Linked DNA regions of Homo sapiens: regions 2, 3, 4 and 5 are each linked to region 1. Evidence: promoter capture Hi-C in 16 types of primary human blood cells and fetal thymus (Javierre and others, 2016). All regions are on one chromosome and are shown on one strand. The core of a region is centred on a gene start or on the middle of the fragment in contact, and the rest is flanking DNA. Distances in the headings are between cores, read along the strand shown. Region 1 holds the start of UBE2F-SCLY (UBE2F-SCLY readthrough (NMD candidate)). Region 2 has its middle 12 kb from the start of LINC02610. Region 3 overlaps ILKAP (ILK associated serine/threonine phosphatase). Region 4 overlaps ILKAP (ILK associated serine/threonine phosphatase). Region 5 overlaps ERFE (erythroferrone).

Region 1 (3,620 bases), core at 661-3,160:
GAATTTGGGCCTACGTGGGCCAATGTGTGGTGCAATCCATTCTGCAGACAGTGACGCTTATGAGTAAGACAAGTGCTCACGCCATTCCGGCTGCACCTTCACACACTGCAATCTTCAAGCCCTTATCTCCTCTCACCAGGACTCATGCCGCCAGCGCATGCAATCTCTATCCAGCAGATGTGTTTTAATCACCTGCATGTTCCAGGATGGGAAAGGGGGTGGCAGGAGGTGACGCTGGAGGAAGAAGGAAGAGGAGGGCTGAGGAGCTGAGCTTAGTCAGGGAAACAGGCCATGACAATAAGGAAGAGGGAAGTGCAGGGCTCCAAGGAAGACACAGAGGGCACCTGCACTGCCCCACCCCACCCCCAGGCTTTGAGGCCTATCAGAAGTTGGTGTCTTAGCTTAGGAAAACTTGAGAGTTAGCCGGGCAAAAAAGGGAGAGACATGGTCCCAAACACAAGAAATAACACAAGTTGTGTTCTTTCTTTTTTCTTTTTTTTCTGGAAACAGTCTTGCTGTGTCACCCAGACTGGAGTGCAGTGTCAGCTCACTGCAACCTCCGCCTCCTGGGTTCAAGCAATTCTCCTGCCTCAGCGTTCCAAATAGCTGGGATTACAAGGGCGCACCACCACGCCCGGCTTTTTTGTATTTTTAGTAGAGATGGGGTTTTGCCATGTTGGCCAGGCTGGTCTTGAACTCCTGACCTCAGGTGATCTGTCTGCCTCGGCCTCCCAAAGTGCTGGGATTACAGGCCTGAGCCACTGCGCCCGGCTGAGTTGTGTTCTTGACCAGTTTTCCTGACTCCATTCCCACCGACTCACTTAGAGCCAAAGCCTTTATTATTATTATGGGGACAGGGTCTGCCCTGTCACCCAAGCTGGAGTGCAGTGGTGCGATCACGGCTCACTGCAGCCTCAACCTCCTGGGCTCAGGTGATCCTCCCATCCCAGCCTCCTGAGTAGCTGGGACTACAGGCGCGCGCCACCACGCGGCTAATTTTTTTTTTCTTTTTTTGTAGCGATGGGGTCTTGCCACCATCAGGAGGCTGGTCTTAAACTCTTGGGCTCATGGGATCCTCCCACTTTGGCCTCCCAAAGTGCTAGGATTACAGGCGTGAGCCACCGGGCCCGCCAGCCTCCTTTAGGAAGAAAACCTGATAGTCACTCCACTGTTAGAAACCTCTCAGTGGGGTTTTTCGAAATGAAAGTCTAACTCCTTGTCTCTTTCTGACCGTTTCCATGCTGAACCTCATCTTTCTAATGGCCCACTCCTCCAGGGGCCTGCCTGACGCCCAGGACGGCCCCTCGTCAATCACACAGGACGCTAATGGGCGCGGGATGAATCTGGGCGCCCAAAAGAGGACAAGTTGAAATGGATTTTTAAGGTACTTTAAACACATTTAAGAGAGAAAAGAAGGAATAAAAGGGACATGACAAGAACAGTGGGGCCTGTGGGCGCAGCACACGGTTTGGGGTTGGTCGTGGCTTGCGTGTCTGACCGCCCGGTCTCCCTCACCGCCTGCACTGCAGGCTGCGGGGGCCTGTCCAGTCCTTTGCACTCCAGGTGCGGCGCTGGACAGCGGGAGCTCCAGCCACGGAGGCCGCTCCTTCAGGGAAGGATAGCCCGGGCTCCTCCGTGCCCCTAAACCCTGCAGACCACGAAGTGAACCCGTGTTGGAACCAGGTGCAAAACCCCCAGCCCTCCGGCGCTCGGGCTCCAGAGCCAACTCGGAATCCCCGCCCCTAACGCTACTCGCCAATCAGCGGCGGTTGCGAAATCCGTGCCCGCCCCCTGGCCGCGCCCTCTGCCAATGAGCGAGGTCCGAGAGGCCCGTCGCCCAGCCCAGTCCCGATCGGCGCACGCCGCTGTTCGCGTGTCTGGTTCCAAATAAAGTTTTTCGCGACTTTGAATTTTTTTTTTAAAGCGCCCGCTGCTGTCTCGGCTGCCGCGGGCGAGAGCGGCCGAGTCCCCGCCCCGCCACTTCCGGTCCCGCCGCCGGGAGCCGGTGCGGCTGTGAGGGGCCGCGTCTCGCAGCAGCCGCCCGGACCGGGCATGGTGTTGGGCGCCGGGCCCGCCTCGCCTGTCTCGGGGAGCCCAGGTGAGGAGCGACCGTGCGGCTCTGCGGCGGGGCGAGGTGCGGCCGCCGGTGCACGGGCTGGCCTGCGGGCCGGGCGGAGGGCGCGGGCGGTGGCGGGGCCGCCTCGGGCCCGCCGGGTTCCTCACGCCGGGGGCCTGGCGGGCGCGGGCACCCGGACGCGAGGCCGAGCGGCGTGAATGGGAAGGGGCCGCGGGCCGCGGGCCGCGAGCCGGGGGTCGGAGGCGGCGTCGGCGGCCGGGGCGCTGGCCTCGCCCGGCAGTGAGTGACCGCGGCGGCGGCGGCGGGGGACGGCCCGCGCCGAGCACCTGGTGTGAACCAGGCCCTGGGCCGAGCGTGGCACAGACCTGGCCGCGCTCACGCCCCACTCGCGGGATCGGCTGCCTGCCTTGTACGGAGGAAGCGGGGCGTCCAGCGCCTGGCCAAGGTCACCGGCCCGACGTGGCCGCAGAAACCGGGACTGGACTCCCGATCGGGGCAGGAGTCGCGCTAGGCCGTGAGGAGCGGGGGAGGTGAGGGGAGTGACAACTCGCGCCCGGTCCTCGTACCTGCAGCGGGAAGAGTAAGTATGGACGCTTACCTACAACTGGGGGCGGCCAGGCTAGTTTGGAAAATTTTTACCACAGCAAAGGAGACGAGGAAGGAAGGGCATCTTGGAACAATTAGTGCAGCAGAGTCTTGGTTCCAGACCTAGTTCTGCTGGTGTGTCATCTTGGGTGTGGCCTTCCCCTCCCTGGGCTCAGTTTCCTCATCTGTCACAGGAGAGAATTGGGTCCCCCCACTCTGCATTCCCGACCGCCTGGAAGTGGGGGCAGGATGGGTTGGAATAGCCAGAGAAAGCTTCTTGGAGGAGGAGATGTTGGGATGTAGGTAGGAATCTTCCCCTTAAGGAAGGGGTAGGATTCGTTTGTGAAGGGAAGGAGGGCATTCTAGACCTGGGTATCAGACTGAATAGAAGCTTCTGGAAATGAACAGGGTGTTGTGAAGGAACAAAGAGGAAACTGGCCTGCCTGGTGCAGAGGAATCCTGGCTGAGGAGTGAGATGAAGGCAAGGGGGAGCATAGAGGTGGGAGAGAGAGAGAGATTGAGAGACAGAATCACACCAAGCTTAGTGCTGTGGGGCTTGAGGACCCCCCACCTGGACATACCTGCCTTTCAGGTAGTAGGCAGTGCAGGAAGGGGCAGGTTTACTGCTGAACGTAAAAGGGGCTGGGCTCCAAAGATGGTCGGTCAACCAGCGTACTCCTGTGCCGAGCAGGAGGTTCCTGGGCACTGGCATTCTGTAGAAGAGTGGGATGTGGACTTTGTTGTGCCCTGATCGGGGCCCCTTTGGCTGGGGAAGTTGAGTGTCCCCTAGTGACCCGCAGTCCCATCCTTTATGCTTGGATTGAGACGTCTCCATTCGGAAGGAATTGTAAATAAGTAGCCCCCTCACCTTGAGCTGACTGGCCCCTGGTGTCCCTGCACAAGTGACATGGCCTGGTTTTGCCATTGCTTGCAGGGATGCTGAGTAAATATCACTTGA
Region 2 (3,620 bases), core at 416-2,915, 250 kb after region 1:
CTGGGCATGGTGACTCACGCCTGTAATCCCAACACTTTGGGAGGCCAAGGTTAGTGGACTGCTTGAGCCCAGGAGTTTGAGACTTGCCTAGGCAACACAGTGAGACCCCCATCTCTATAAAACTAAAAACATCAGCCAGCATGGTGGTGCATGCTGTGTTCCTAGCTACTGAGGAGGCTGAGATGGGAGGTTTGCTTGAACCCAGGAGGTTGAGACTATAGGTAGCCATGATCACACCACTGCACTCTAGCTTGGGCAGCAGAATGAGATCTTGCCTAAAAAACAAAACAAAACAAAAAAAACCCAACCCAAAACATATGGTATTGTCTTTGGGACTGGGCATCAGGCAAAGGCTGGAATGGCCTTGAGAAGACTGTTAGTGGAACCTCGACGGGCCTCGAGGTTGTTGATGAGTGCTTAAAAAGAGAGACGAAAATGTTATTGAAAGATTGAGGCCGGGCGCGGTGGCTCACACCTGTAATCCCAGCACTTTGGGAGGCTGAGGTGGGTGGATCACAAGGTCAGGAGTTTGAGAGCAGCCTGACCAACATGGTGAAACCCCATCTCTACTAAAAATACAAAAATTAGCCGGGCGTGGTGGTGGGTGCCTGTAATTCCAGCTACTTGGGAGGCTGAGGCAGGAGAATTACTTGAACCTGGGAGGCAGAGGTTGCAGCAAGCTGAGATTGCAATCTTAGCTCATTGCAACCTCCGCCTCCCAGGTTCAAGAGATTCTTCGGCCTCAGCCTCCCAAGTAGCTGGGACTACAGGCACCCACCACCATGGCCAGCTAATTTTTGTATTTTTAGTACAGACAGGGTTTCACCATACTGGCCAGGCTGGTCTTGAACTCCTGACCTCAAGTGATCCACCCGCCTTGGCCTCCCAAAGTGCTGGGATTACAGGCGTGAGCCACCGCACCCAGCCCATTTTCAATTCTTTTGGGTATATACCTAGGAGTGGAATTTCTGGGTCATATGATAATTCTATGTGTAGTGTTTTGAAGAACCACTAAACTGTTTTCCATAGTGACTACACCATTTTTCATTCCCACCAACTGGCTTCTGTATTTTTTTCTTTTACTCTCAGTACACACCAGAGATTTCTGTATTTTTGATACAAAATTTTATGTACACCTACTTGTTAAATATTATAATTCATATTAAGTTAATTAATGTAAATCAATATTATAATTTCCACAATGAAATACTATATTAAAATATATTTTAAATTCATACTAAAAGTTTTTAGATAAATATGGTATTGAGACTGGGCATGGTTACTCACGTCTGTAATCCCAGCACTTGGGAAGCCAAGACAGGCAGATAACTTGAGCTCCCGAGTTATCTGCCCACCAGGCTGGGCAACGTGGAGAAACCCCAGCTCTACCAAAAAAATACAAAAATTAGCCAGACATGGTGGCATGCACCTGTAGTCCCAGCTACTTGGGAGGCTGAGGTGGAAGGATTGCTTGAGCCTGGGAGGTGGAGGTTTCAGTATCTAAAAAGCCAAGTGGCTGAATGCAGTGGCTCATGTCTGTAATGCCAGTACTTTGAGAGGCCAAGGCAGGAGGATTGCTTGAGGCCAAGAGTTGGAGACCAGCCTGGACAAGATTCTCTCAACAAAATAATTTTTTAAAATAAAAATAAATAAGAAATAAAAGCCAAGAGGTACAATGTTCAGGAGAAGAATAAAAATACTTGCAGAAATATATAAAAATTATAGGAAACAACTATAAGTTTGGCTAGAAATACAGTATTTTGGCTACTGAAAATGACTGAGTCCTCTAATGTTGATATTATCAGAACAGAGTTGTTATCAAAGTCAGCTAACTAAAGGATCTGCTTCAAAACATTAAAGAGAAATTTTACAAGTTTCAGTAACTAGCGAACATAAGTTTGAGCAAAAAAGTGAGAAGATGCCAGCCAGGCACAGTGGCTCATGCCTGTAATCCCAGCACTTTGGGAGGCCAAGGCAGGCGGATCACCTGAGGTCAGGAGTTCAAGACCAACCTGGCCAACATGGTGAAACCCCATCTCTACTAAAAACACAAAAATTAGCTGGGTGTGGTGGCACATGCCTGTAATCCCAGCTACTCAGGAGGCTGAGGCAGGAGAACTGCTTGAACCCGGGAGGCGGAGGTTGCAGTGAGCCAAGATTGTGCCACTGCACTCCAGCCTGGGTGACAAGAGTGAGACTCCATCTCAAAAAAAAAAAAAAAAAAGTGAGAAGATGCCATTTCAAATGAATTGCAATAATTATCCACTGTGGCTGCTACTTTGTCATAAAGTAAAAATGATCTGAATAGAGCACATACTTGAATAGATCACAAAGGAAAAGATTTAGATTTTAGGGAATCTACTTCACACAATGGACATTTCTAGAGTTTTCTTGTTTTCTTTTCTTTTTTTGTTTCAGAAATGGGGCAGTGGGGAGGGGGCATCTCACTAAGTTGCCCAGGCTGGTCTTGAACTCCTGGCCTCAAGGGATCCTCTGCATTGCTGAGATTATAGGCATGAGCCACTGCACCTGACAAAACATTTTTCTTCAATATTCTAATGGCAAATGAATTCATTGTGACTGCTCATGTATTCCAAAAAAAATTGTCCTTATTTTTCATGCATACTTTTCTGCAGCAATGCAATAAAATCAAACTTTTGCAACTAAAGAAAAAAAAAAGTTTCCAAAGATTGGAAACAGTTAAACAGAATTTGTGACCGTGAAAATTTTGTTTTATTGTGAGGCTTTCTTTTTTGTCTTCTTCTGAGACAGAGTCTTTCTCTGTCACCCAGGCTGAATGCAGTGATGCAATCAATCATAGCTCACTGCATCTGTGGCCTCAAACTCCTGGGCTCAAGTGATCCTCCTGTTACAGGATCTTTGGGGTGTCACTTTTGACTGGAAACCTCTGTGGCCGGTGGCACCTTTGCCCGAGTTCTCGTTCTGCATCCAGGAAGAATGAGATACGCAGACAAGCAGAGGGTGAGCACGACAAAGAGGAGCTTTATTGACTGTTAGAACAGCCTGAAGGAGCCCCGCAGCGGGTAGCTCCTCTCTGTAAGCAAGTCGTCCTGTTGAGTGTTCATCTCTCAGCAGAAAGGAAGCCCTGGTGACTCCTCTCTGCAGGGGGATTGTCCCAGTGTCTGCCCAGCTCCTAGCAGAGAAGAGGCCCTGGAGTGGGTTGCTCCTCTCTGCAACCGGTAGTCCCAAGGTCTCTGCAGGTCTCTGAAACTCTCAGCAGAGAGGGTAGCTCCTCTCTGCGGCTTGTTTTCCCATCTGCTCAGCTCTGGTTGAGCCAAGGTTTTTATTGGCCTTAAAGGGGAGGAAGTGCATGCTGATTGGTCCCGGGGCAGCCATGGGCAGCCCGGAGAAAGCATCACAAGTTCCCACTCCAGTGCTCCGGCACTGGCAGCCTGGCCCCCAACCTTCAGGCCCTCCCTGGCCTGAAGGTAGGGCCTCACCAGGGACCCGTCCTCTTTTGCCCAGGAATCTGTCTGCCTTCTGCTGCCGTTCATGGCACCAGGGCTCAGCCCCGACTTTGCTCTGAGATTGGAGCAGGCACCAGGAACAGGGAGAGGCCAGGCACTGGGAGCAGGCACTTCTGGGCCTGTGAGGGGAGG
Region 3 (3,620 bases), core at 535-3,034, 230 kb after region 1:
CAGTAATGTGATCTTCGCTCACTGCCTCCACCTCCCGGGTTCAAGCTATTCTCCTGCCCCAGCCTCCTGAGTAGGTGAGATCACAGGCGCACACCACCATGCCCAAATAATTTTTGTATTTTTAGTAGAGACATGGTCTCACCATATTGACCAGGCTAGTCTTGAACTCCTGACCTCAAGTGTTCTGCCTGCCTCAGCCTCCCAAAGCGCTGGGATTACAGGGGTGAGCCACCATGTCTGGTCTAATTTTTGTATTTTTAGTAGAGACGGGGTTTCACCATGTTGGCCAGGTTGGTCTCAAACTCCTGGCCTCAAGTGGTCCACCCGCCTCAGCCTCCCAAAGTGCTGGGATTACAGGTATGAGCTATTGTGCCAGGCCAAACACCAATTCAACTAAACAAATAAATTTATATCCCCCAAGAGGGTCATCCCTATCATCTTTTTGCCTCCATTTAGAAATGAGCTGGGTATCAACTTTCTTCTTTTAAAAACAAAAGCTTTAATTAAAAATTTATAAACTTAAGGGAATGAAATTTCTCCCGGGGTCTTTGCGTCAGAAGTACCTAAAATACACAAGAAATTCCTGAGTTAACAAAAAATAACTATTTTGCTTTATATCCCTAATACAAATGGGAAAATGTATTCTAATCCTTCAGGATGACCCTAAACAAATTAAGGAATTGCAAATACTTTCACTTTTCTTACAAGTGACATAAAGACTCTATTAGAAGTATACAAGAAGCAGAAGAAAGCCATTAAAAAGTATTTAGTATGGCCAGGTGTGGTGGCTCACACCTATAATCCCAGCACTTTGGGAGGTCAAGGTCAGGACTGAGGTCAGCAGTTCAAGATGAGCCTGACCAACATGGTGAAACCCTGTCTCTCCAGAAATACAAAAATTAGCTAGGCATGGTGGCGGGTGCCTGTAGCCCCAGCTACTTGGGAGGCTGAAGCAGGAAAACTGCTTGAACCTGGGAGGCGGAGGTTGCGGTGAGCTGAGATAGCGCCACTGCACTCCAGCCTGGGGGACAAAACCAGACTCTGTCCCCAGCACCCAAAAAAAGTATTTAGGATAACCATTACTCAATGTATTAATCCACTTACAAGAATTCCTAATATCCCGAAGTAGGTCACTTTTGCCCAAACATTGGGTCTAACAATCACAACGCCCGTTCTCCGGACAGACTCAAAAACCACATGAGATGTTCCAGACAATCACGCTGCATTCAGTGGTGTCACAGAGCCAGATGTCTTAGGACAAGGGAGGGGACATTTACAGGTAACAGCCCAACATGAAGAGCAAACAACCCTTCCGCTTGTACCAGGTCATATTTTAACTTTTGAATTAACTTGCCCATCTAAATCAGGTCTTTCCACTGCCACTGTACAAGGGAGGAAGTCTTCTTTTACCCAGGTAATAAATATATTTTCAGTTCTTGTAAGCATTCCTCACAATGCAACTTACAGCTTAGTATTAATACTAGCCTGGCCGCCTCTCCTCTGGCTACAATTCAGTCAGATGGTGCCCCAAACTGAGCCCCATCCCCAGAGAACTGCCTATCACCTTCTTTCTCACTCTGGAATACTATGAGAGGTATTTCAATTAAACACAATGAGACCATCCTACATTTTGCTGGCCACAACTGGGAATGGCTTCTAAAAATGATAATACTGCCTGCCTGTCAGGCACTATTCTAAGAGCTCCACACATCTTCTCATTTAATTCTTATGAGATAGGTACTATTATTATTTACCGATGAAAAAACTGAGGCACTGAGGTCAATTACCTGTTCAAGATCACAGAGCCAGTAAGGAGTGGAGTGGGGATTCAAAGCCATGCAGTCCGTGCTTTTAGTGAGGTACTATGCTGCCTCCATACATGGGCACCCTTCCAGAAACTTCATAAACATCAACTCATTTTACCCTTACAACAATCCTATGATGATAATCCTGAGATTTTATAAAATCTCTGGAAATAATTTTTGCATCATCAAAAGAATCTAACTTAGAAGTCTGTATGTGGATTCTTTAAAAAAAAATCTATAGGTCATAGATACATAAGGAAACTACTGATTAGTCAAAACCTTAGATTTTTTTTTTTTTAAATTGAGACAAGAGTCTCGCTCTGTGAGCCAGGTTGGAGTGCAGTGGTGTGATCACAGCTCACTGCAGCCCCAACCTTCTGGGCTCAAGCAATCCTCCCTCGTCAGATTCCCGAGTAGCTGAAACTACAGGCATACACCACCATGCCCAGCTAATTTTTTAACTTTTTGTAGAGACGGGGTCTCACTATGTTGCCCAGGTTGGTCACGAACTACTGTACTCAAGCAATCTTCCTGCCTCAGCATCCCAAAGTGCTGGGATTACAGATGTGACCCACTGCTCCAGGCCCTTACATTCTATTTTGAATAAACTGAAATTCAAAGCATTGGGGGCTGCAATCATTGGACAAAGTGTGACCCTGACCTAAAAATCTGGAAGAGGCCCCTCCCCTAATCTTAAAAATATTAGAACCCTAATAAGAATACAAGACTAAAAATGTCCATTAATCATAGTTAATCTCATCTAGAACTTTTTTTTTTCCTCAGTTATCTACATTCTGGAGCTAAGTCTACTGGAAGTTATATACTATGCTGAGAAAAATACCCTTGGGTTGATCATATTCAGGTTAAAGGTTGCTGTATCCAATAAAGTTAAAAAAGGATGTTAAAATATTTTGGCTAAATTGTTTTTTATACCTCAATTTTTTCAACTATAAAATAAATCCAGGTGTTTTCCAAACACCACAGAGGTATTATCAGAAAAAAGGGGGGACAGGTTCCGCCACACCCCCCAACCACAGTATGAGTTTAGTGTATCCTTTCCACTTTCCTTAATGCTCATGCACATGGACTCATGCATTTTAATTTGTAGAAGACAGAGTCATACTCTACACAATACTCCACATATAGTGTTCACATAACCCATCAAGGCATGCTCCAGGCCAACACACCCAAGTCTAATTCATCCTCTCCAACAGCCACACATGGGAAGCATCTCCACTCATTCGACCAGATCCTTACTGATGGGTTCAAGCTTTTCCCAGTTCTTCATATGATAAGTGACGCCACAATCAACAATCTGATACATGTATTCCTGCTTAATCTGCTAGACTGCTCGTCAAAGGATATTAGTTTAAATCTGATAGAAGCCAAAATCTGTTCCCCAAAAAGTTGTAATTTTCACTCCCAAAACACTTTATGAGAAAGTCTACTTCGCTACACATTCACCAATGTTACCAACTGTTGCTAATCTGATGGGTGAAAAGGTAAATAGTTCCTCAGCAACTTTCTGTTGATGGGCCATTTGTATTCCTTACCTCTGAACTGGGAGGATACATCCTTTGACCATTTTTCTAGTGGGTTTTATTTTTTCCCATCAATTCTGTGAGCCTTTCTTATACCCTTAGTAATGTATATTGCAATTATTTTCTCGGTTTGTCTTTTGCCTTTATAGTATCATTTGTCCTGCAGAAATTTTAAATTTTTACATAGTCAAATTCACTTTTTTATGACTTTTTTCTTGTTCAACCCTGTAGTTTTACAATCTGTTTTCCTCTAATACCTTAACCTTTATGTTCA
Region 4 (3,620 bases), core at 653-3,152, 210 kb after region 1:
CAAAGTTAAGGTTGGGAGGTGGAAGCTCCATCTCCTGACCATCCAAAGACTGGTGGATGCCTAAATCCAACATATTAATACAATGAGTGCTACAGAGATAACCAAAGGTACAATGCTAGAACAGTTACTTTTGGTTATCAGAGGCCTGCACTTGATCAAGTTCTAGGCACACAGTACTGACATTTAAATTTAAATGCTATATGTAAACTTCCCATCTGTTCAGCTGCCTTCCTTGTAAAATAAAAATAAAACTTGTCTTAATCTTCTCAGAAAAATTCACTGCTACATAGCTACCTTCAATGTAAGAAAGTAGAAAAAAATAATGCACAAAGATTTACATACTTTTGTTAAGAAATACTGGAAAGAATCAAGAAATAGGATGAAGGGGACAGGGATGAAAGCATGACATCTCTAAATGTCTTTTTACTCAATTTAGATTTTGAAGCATGCAACAGGGAGTTTTTCATGTTTTTTATTGTGGTAAAATATACATGACATTTACCATCTTAACCATTTTTAAGTGTACAGTTCAGCAGCATTAAATATATTCACACTGTTGTGTTATCAGCACCACCATCCATCCCCAGGACTTTTTCTACCTTCCCAGACTGAGATTGTTCCCATTAAACACTAACCCCACGATTCATTCCCCAGAATTCATACCCCACACCCCCCAATAACCACCATTCTACTTTCTGTGAACTTGACTGGTACCTCCTATGAGTGAAATTCTAGTGTTTGTCTTTTTGCATCTGGCTTCTTTTACTTAGCATAAAGTCCTCAGGTTCATCCATTTTGTAGCATGGGTCAGAATTTCCTTCCTTTTTGAGGTTAAATAATATTCTGTTATATAGACATCTCACGTTGCTTATCTATTCATCTGTCAATGAACATTTGGGTTGCTTCCCCCTTTTCCCCATGGTGAATAATGCTGCTGTGAACACAGGTATGCAAATATCTGTTCGTGTCCCTGCTTTGAGTTCTTTTGGGTATATACGCAGAGGTGGAACTGCAGATCACATGCTAACTCTGTGTTTAATGTCTGAGGAACTGCCATACTGTTTTCCATAGTGGCTACACCATTTCACATTCCCACCAGCCATGCACAGGGGTTCTCATTTTCTCCCTGTAATTTATAAAGGGAAAAAAGCCCTTTATAAATTGGATAAACTGAAAACAATAAACTGAATAAAAATAAATGGAAAACTAATAATATTAATAACCAAAGTGGCAAAATAACCACAGTAAAAACAGTTATTTCACTTTTGCGCACAGTGCCAACAGTACTGCTTTAGTGAGGTATATCTAAGGACAAGAGAACAGCAAGGAACACAAACTAAAGTTAGGATATTTTTATTTTTTGAGACAGGGTCTCACTCTGTCAACTAGGCTGGAGTGCAGTGGCACAATCATAGCTCACTGTATCCTAGAACTCCTAGACTCAAGTGACCCTTCTGTCTCAGCCACCCGAGTGGCTGGGACCACAGGCGCACACCACCAGAACTGGCTCCATGGTGCCATTTTTATTTTTTGTAGAGATAAGGTCTCACTGCGTTGCCCAGGCTTCTCTCAAACTCCTGACGTGGAGCGATCCTCCTGCCTCAGCTTCCCGATGCACTGGAATTACAGGTGTGAGCCCTCTGCTCCCCTAGTAGTGATAATTTTGATACTATGAAACTGTTTTAACAAATAAATATACTGTTGTTAAGAACCAAGATTTCTAGCATTAAGAGAAACGAGCTACAAATATTAAACCAAAGAAGAGAAAACTCTGTAACGTTAAATATGAGTAAGAAATAGCACTCCAAGCTTGCGATTTAAAATGTGTTGTGTTTCCTAGCTTTGCATGTCTTGAGTGGACATAGAACTAATGACACTCCAACTGAACTGAGCACCCGAGAACATGGATTTGGGCTTTTTAAAAAAATTTATTCCCTACACTGATGTAAATCAATTATTATTATTTTTTTTTAAGCAAAAGTCTTGCTCTGTTACTCAAGCTTGAAAGCAATGGTATGATCTCTGCTCACTACAACCTCTGCCTCCCAGGCTCAAGCAATCCTCCCACCTCAGCCTCCTGAGTAGGACCACAAGTGTGTGCCACCCCACCTGGCTAATTTCTCTTTTTTATTTTTTGGTATTTCTTGTAGAGATGGGGTTTCACCACAGTTGCCAAATTGGTCTTGAACTCCTAGGCTCAAGAGATTCACCCACTTCAGCCTCCCGAAGTGCTGGGATTACAGATGTGAGCCACTGCACCCAGCCTGGATTTTGGCTCTTAAACATTAATACACACATATGAAAAGGACACAGGAACCAGCCAGCAGGAGTTTCCACTGGCCATATCTGAAATCAAGTGAGCAGCAGAAAACCCCATGACTGTGACTACAACACAATGAATAGTCAGTTGGCACACAGTGATTCACAAAGGAAGGATGGAGGGAAAGAAGCAGAGGAGTGAAAGGAAAACACTGATTTCCACAACTATAGGTGACTATCTTCCTTTCAAATGGATAAAGGACAGAATGAAACATTGACCCTGCTTTTTTAGAAGAATCTATGATGTTCTCTTATTGATGATAAGAAGTTTCTTTACAGAATGCCCGCTAATACATGTGAAAAGAATCACAGAATATGGAAATCATCTTTGACATCCCTGATGAAATAATGATTTAGGGATGCTAAGACCATTAGGTGAAAGGCTGACAGGAAACAGAATATTCACAAGGTACCAGTGAACCTCCCCAGATTACCTGCTGATGACGCAAGGCAACAGGAGCATCCGGCTGTCACCACCGGAGCCAAGTGCTGGGATTTGGCAACTTAATTAAGGGTCACATTATGTGCCTACTGAAGTGAAGGACTACTGAGTATACAGCATCCCCCATAAAACATTGCTAAAAACATCTCATCTGAATCTAAAGAAGGTCTTACACCTAACTTCCAGTTTATAGGAAATATACAGAAATAACACCGTAAAAAAATACGCAGGTTCAGAATATTGGTGACTCTGTACAACTGCTGGCCTATAACATGGTTCAAAGCCTGGTAAGAAATGAGTCTCGGCAGGGTGCAGTGGCTCACACCTGTATTCCCTGCACTCTGGGAGGCCAAGGCAGAAGGATCACTTAGCTCAGCCTGGAAAACACAGACAGAGACCCTGTCTCTACCAAAAAATAAAAAAATAGCCAGGCACAGTGGCACATGCCTGTGGTCCCAGCTACTTGGGAGGCTGAGGCTGGAGGATCGCTTCAACCTCAGAGGTCAAGGCTGCGGTGAGCTGTGATCGTGCCACTGCACTCCAGGCAACAGATCAAGATTCTCTCTCTCAAAAAAAAAAAAGAAAGAAAGAAAAAGAAAAAGAAAAAGAAATGCCAAGTCCACGGCAGACATGGATGCTGACTAGACCCTGGTTTGAAACAAAGATACTTTGGGGATAACTCGGGAAATAAAAATATAGACAGGGTATTAGATAACTTAACCTAAGGAAATATTATTGTCTTAGGTGTGAAAATTCTCACTAATTATGTCAAGAACGTCCTTATCTTCAGGAGATGCATGCTTAAGTATTTAGGCTGTTATGTCATCATATCTGCAACTTTTAAACAGCTCAGCCTGAC
Region 5 (3,620 bases), core at 823-3,322, 200 kb after region 1:
GGGTCAGCTGGGCACACCCCTCCTGGCCGGTGTGCGGCATCCTCGCCCCATGTTTCCACGGAGGGCACACAGGAAGTGGAAGAGGGTCCTGGGAGGGGGTAGAGGGGAGATCAGCCAGCAGGTGGTGCAGTTGACCCTCTAAGGCACAAGGAAGCACTGAGCAGCGCTGAGGGCCCTGGGCCCCTGAACCCTTTCTCCGCCCAACCACAGGCTCCTCGGCACCGCAGCCCCCATCTTCCCACCACAACACCCTGGCCTGCGCATTGGTCAGCCAGCTCCCAAAAGAAGGCCCTGCATCCCCCCAGATCAGCCAGGAACCAAAGGCAGTGACTTGGCAGCCGGCTTTGTCTCTGATAAAAGGGCCCAGTCAGCTCTAAAATCCCAGGGTCCTTCCGTCAGCCCCCAGCGTCAGCACCCATGACCTCATCTAAGCCCTCTTGGGCCGGTTTCCTTCCCAGCTGGCAGCCTTGCCTGGAGCCCAGATAGCCCAAGGCCTCTCCCAGGAAGGTCCCTCCCAAAACTGTGCTCAGTGTCAGCATCAGTCAGGATGCAGCGCGGACAGGAATGGGAACTTCCGGAAGCATCACTGTCCATGTGTCAGTGTCTCAGAAGTGCTGAGGAAATGAAAGTCTCACACAGAGGCCTCGCGTCATGACAGCTCGCCTGGTCCTCTCCCCCACTGGACTGTAACCCGAGGCAGCTGTGAGAGCTGAATTTGCCTCCTTAGAACTTCTGACACTGGGGGAGGATGGACAGAGGAGGGTTGGCTAGTAGTTGGGCTCCCTGATAATCACAGTTGCTTCTTCCTGAGCACCTATGGGTGCTCCAGTGGTCGGATCCTCCTGGTGACTGGAGGACGGTGTGATCACTGCAGCTCCTCTGGAGGAAGGAGGCCCAGCAGTACGGGGATTCACCCCGATATCCAAGCCCTGCACCCCATTTTCCCTCCAGGCATCTTGGGTCTGCCTCTCCCATGAGTGCCAAGTCCAGGCCGAGGTGTGGCCCGTTCCCTAGGAGTCATCCTCCACGGGCCGGGGGAGAAGCTGTGAGGGGTTGGGGCCCCTTTGGGAGCTGCCTTTGAGGGCACCACAGGTGACAAGGACCAGGGTCCCAGAGTACAGAAGGCCACACAGTCACCTCCTGCAAAGTGTCCCACCTGCTTGGTAGGAGCCCAGTGAGGCCAACCGCCCTGCTGGGCTGGCTGTGTTCCAGGAGCCCACCGCTGAGCGTGCACACAGCGTCGACCCCCGGGACGCCTGGATGCTCTTCGTCAGGCAGAGTGACAAGGGTGTCAATGGCAAGAAGAGGAGCAGGGGCAAGGCCAAGAAGCTGAAGGTGAGGCCGGCATCCCGTCAGTGCCAGGCCGTGGGGGGTTCCGCCTCCTCGCTCCTCATCCACTCCCACTCCTACATCCTGAACATTTCCAATAGCACACCCCTCACGCCTCGGCCTGGGGACAGAGAACAGAGAGAACCCAGGCAGCCCCAGGGGGAGCCCCGAGTTAGGGGCCTGGTCCCAACCATTTCCCCACACCCCTAAAATGCCAGGCTCTCCCTCTTTTCTCCTCCCTCTGCATCCAGGCCAGGGAGGCTGGGCTAGCCCAGGCTGTGGTGAGAACCTTGTCCACACTGGAGGGGCCTGCAGGAGTGCCTGGCTCCCAGGGACTAGGGGCACAGGGTCCCTCTCACCCTCACTCAGCCTTAGGTCTTGGCCTGGGCAGAAACTTGGTGCTTGGTCCTGGTGCTGCCTCCTGCTTGGAGCCCCCAAAATGGAAAATACGGGGTGTGGGCTTCTCTGTCCCCTGGGGGCCAGTATCACCTGCCTGGGATCTGAACACACGATGGAAGGCCAGCTCGGAGTGCATGAGGCAGGTGCACAGGCCGCGCTGTCCTCGTGGCCTGGCCTTCTACCTCTGCCCAGCCTCCTGGCCCTGCCCTAAGCTTCTCCCCACAGGGGGCTCACTGGCTTCTGGTTCGGGTCCCAACCCAGCCTAGTGGGGACCTGCTGATGGTGGACTCGGGCCCAGTGCAGACCCTGAGATGCAAGTCCCCAAAAGCAGCCTAGAGTCTTCTTCCCTCCACGAGGCCTGGCCGCAGGAGCGGGCTTCAGCCCTCTGCCTCCCCACTCAGAGCAGAGTCCTTCCCTGCCAAAGCCCCGCCCCGAGGGCCCCCACCTCCAGCACAGTCCTTGTACTCACTCCAGGAGAAGCTTTCACTGAGGTAGATCCTTGGCTGGAGGTTGGAGCCCACTGGGGAGCTCTGTTGCCTGCCTCTTAGTGGCAAGAGCTTGCACAGGGGATGCTGTGGCTCCCAGCCTGCTCCTCACATGTCCTCACTGCCAAGGTTCCCTTTCAGTTCGGCTTGCCAGGGCCCCCTGGGCCTCCCGGTCCCCAGGGCCCCCCAGGCCCCATCATCCCACCCGAGGCGCTGCTGAAGGAGTTCCAGCTGCTGCTGAAAGGTAGGGGTGTGCACCGGCTGGGACACACACACCCCGCTGTGAGCAGGGCCTGGGAGGGTGTCCCGAGGAGCTGACAGGGCCAACCTCAACACTTCGGCGGGCACCCAAGGAGGCACCTGCTCTGGGCTGGACTCAAGGACAGTAGAGCTGGCCAGGTCCAGTCTCTGCCCCATCTTGGCCCATGTCTGCCAAGGGTCAGGGCTGGGGATGGCTGGGGGTTGGGAACCATGGCCAGGAGAAGGCTTCACAGAGGAAGGTGGACCTGGCCACTCAGTATGGCGGGTGCTCAGGGACCAGCGCCTATGCCCTGCCTGGAAGTCAGGAGAGCCCAGCGAAAGGCAGAGGCTAGTGTATGGGGCAGCACCAGGTGGAGCTCAGCCTGGCACCCACAGTCACCACTGGCCAGGGCTGGGGCAGCCTGCCCTGGAGGAGGCAGGGCTGAGTGGAGCCGCGGAGTCCACACTGAGGCCTCCTGCAGAGCGGCGGCTCACATTAGTCATTAGAATTGAGCCGTTTTTTCCTTTTAGTTCAATGTCCTGTTCGTTTAAATATAGCACCTTCTGCGCTGAAGAACCTCCTTGTACTTCCAGTAAAGCTGCAATCGCTTATTTTACCCCCAGCGTCTTTGGAAAATGTGGGTGGGGTAGAGGTGAGGCTGGAGGCCAAGGGCGCTGGGGCACTTCTGCCCGAGCTTCCCAAATCTTGAGGGAAACGGGAGCCGCTGCAGGGTCAGGACGCAAAGACTCCGAGGCCCTTCAGGCCGAGGGGACGTCGCCCTCGCCCCACCCCTGCGCCCGGCAGGCCCCTGGTCTCGCTAGCACCTGTCGTTCAGGGCTGGACCCACGCGGCGGGCGGGTGAGGGGTCCCTGGCGCGCGGCCACCGCTCGCTCTGTGCCAGGTGCGGTGCGGCAGCGGGAGCGCGCGGAGCCCGAACCCTGTACGTGTGGCCCCGCCGGGCCGGTCGCTGCGAGCCTCGCCCCGGTCTCGGCCACCGCCGGGGAGGACGACGACGACGTGGTGGGGGACGTGCTGGCACTGCTGGCCGCGCCCCTGGCCCCGGGGCCGCGGGCGCCGCGCGTGGAGGCCGCTTTCCTCTGCCGCCTGCGCCGGGACGCGTTGGTGGAGCGGCGCGCGCTGCACGAGCTTGGCGTCTACTACCTGGT

Evidence for each region. The method cuts DNA at HindIII sites, captures the fragments that hold promoters and counts their contacts. A CHiCAGO score of 5 or more calls a contact.
Region 2: a fragment that was not itself captured here is called in contact with the fragment with the promoter of UBE2F-SCLY in region 1 in 5 of 17 cell types (total CD4 T cells, total B cells, activated CD4 T cells and 2 more); the score reaches 5.8 in total CD4 T cells.
Region 3: a contact is called between a fragment that was not itself captured here and the fragment with the promoter of UBE2F-SCLY in region 1, in 11 of 17 cell types (activated CD4 T cells, naive CD4 T cells, total CD4 T cells and 8 more). The highest score is 11.6, in activated CD4 T cells.
Region 4: a fragment that was not itself captured here is called in contact with the fragment with the promoter of UBE2F-SCLY in region 1 in 1 of 17 cell types (naive CD4 T cells); the score reaches 5.0 in naive CD4 T cells.
Region 5: a contact is called between a fragment that was not itself captured here and the fragment with the promoter of UBE2F-SCLY in region 1, in 2 of 17 cell types (activated CD4 T cells and erythroblasts). The highest score is 6.1, in activated CD4 T cells.

What each region holds. Positions count from the first base shown.
Region 1 is chr2:237,965,035-237,968,654 of GRCh38, forward strand. It overlaps UBE2F-SCLY (UBE2F-SCLY readthrough (NMD candidate)), which reads left to right and starts at 1,911. Exons shown (of 19, transcript NR_037904.1): 1 at 1,911-2,098. It overlaps UBE2F (ubiquitin conjugating enzyme E2 F (putative)), which reads left to right and starts at 1,980. Exons shown (of 10, transcript NM_080678.3): 1 at 1,980-2,098. RefSeq lists a cis regulatory region at 1-507 and a silencer at 2,024-2,203. The HindIII fragment of the contact is 5,181 bases long and covers 1-2,933 here.
Region 2 is chr2:238,217,660-238,221,279 of GRCh38, forward strand. No RefSeq gene overlaps it. Among named protein-coding and RNA genes, the nearest start is that of LINC02610, 12 kb to the right of the region's middle. The HindIII fragment of the contact is 7,996 bases long and covers 1-3,620 here.
Region 3 is chr2:238,196,148-238,199,767 of GRCh38, forward strand. The region is part of intron 1 of ILKAP (ILK associated serine/threonine phosphatase); the gene reads right to left. Among named protein-coding and RNA genes, the nearest start is that of ILKAP, 5.7 kb to the right of the region's middle. The HindIII fragment of the contact is 2,578 bases long and covers 496-3,073 here.
Region 4 is chr2:238,176,838-238,180,457 of GRCh38, forward strand. All of the region lies in intron 9 of ILKAP (ILK associated serine/threonine phosphatase), which reads right to left. Among named protein-coding and RNA genes, the nearest start is that of ERFE, 20 kb to the left of the region's middle. The HindIII fragment of the contact is 191 bases long and covers 1,808-1,998 here.
Region 5 is chr2:238,160,382-238,164,001 of GRCh38, forward strand. It overlaps ERFE (erythroferrone), which reads left to right. Exons shown (of 8, transcript NM_001291832.2): 2 at 1,213-1,335; 3 at 2,355-2,457; 4 at 3,356-3,618. Among named protein-coding and RNA genes, the nearest start is that of ERFE, 3.2 kb to the left of the region's middle. RefSeq lists an enhancer at 2,777-3,277. The HindIII fragment of the contact is 268 bases long and covers 1,939-2,206 here.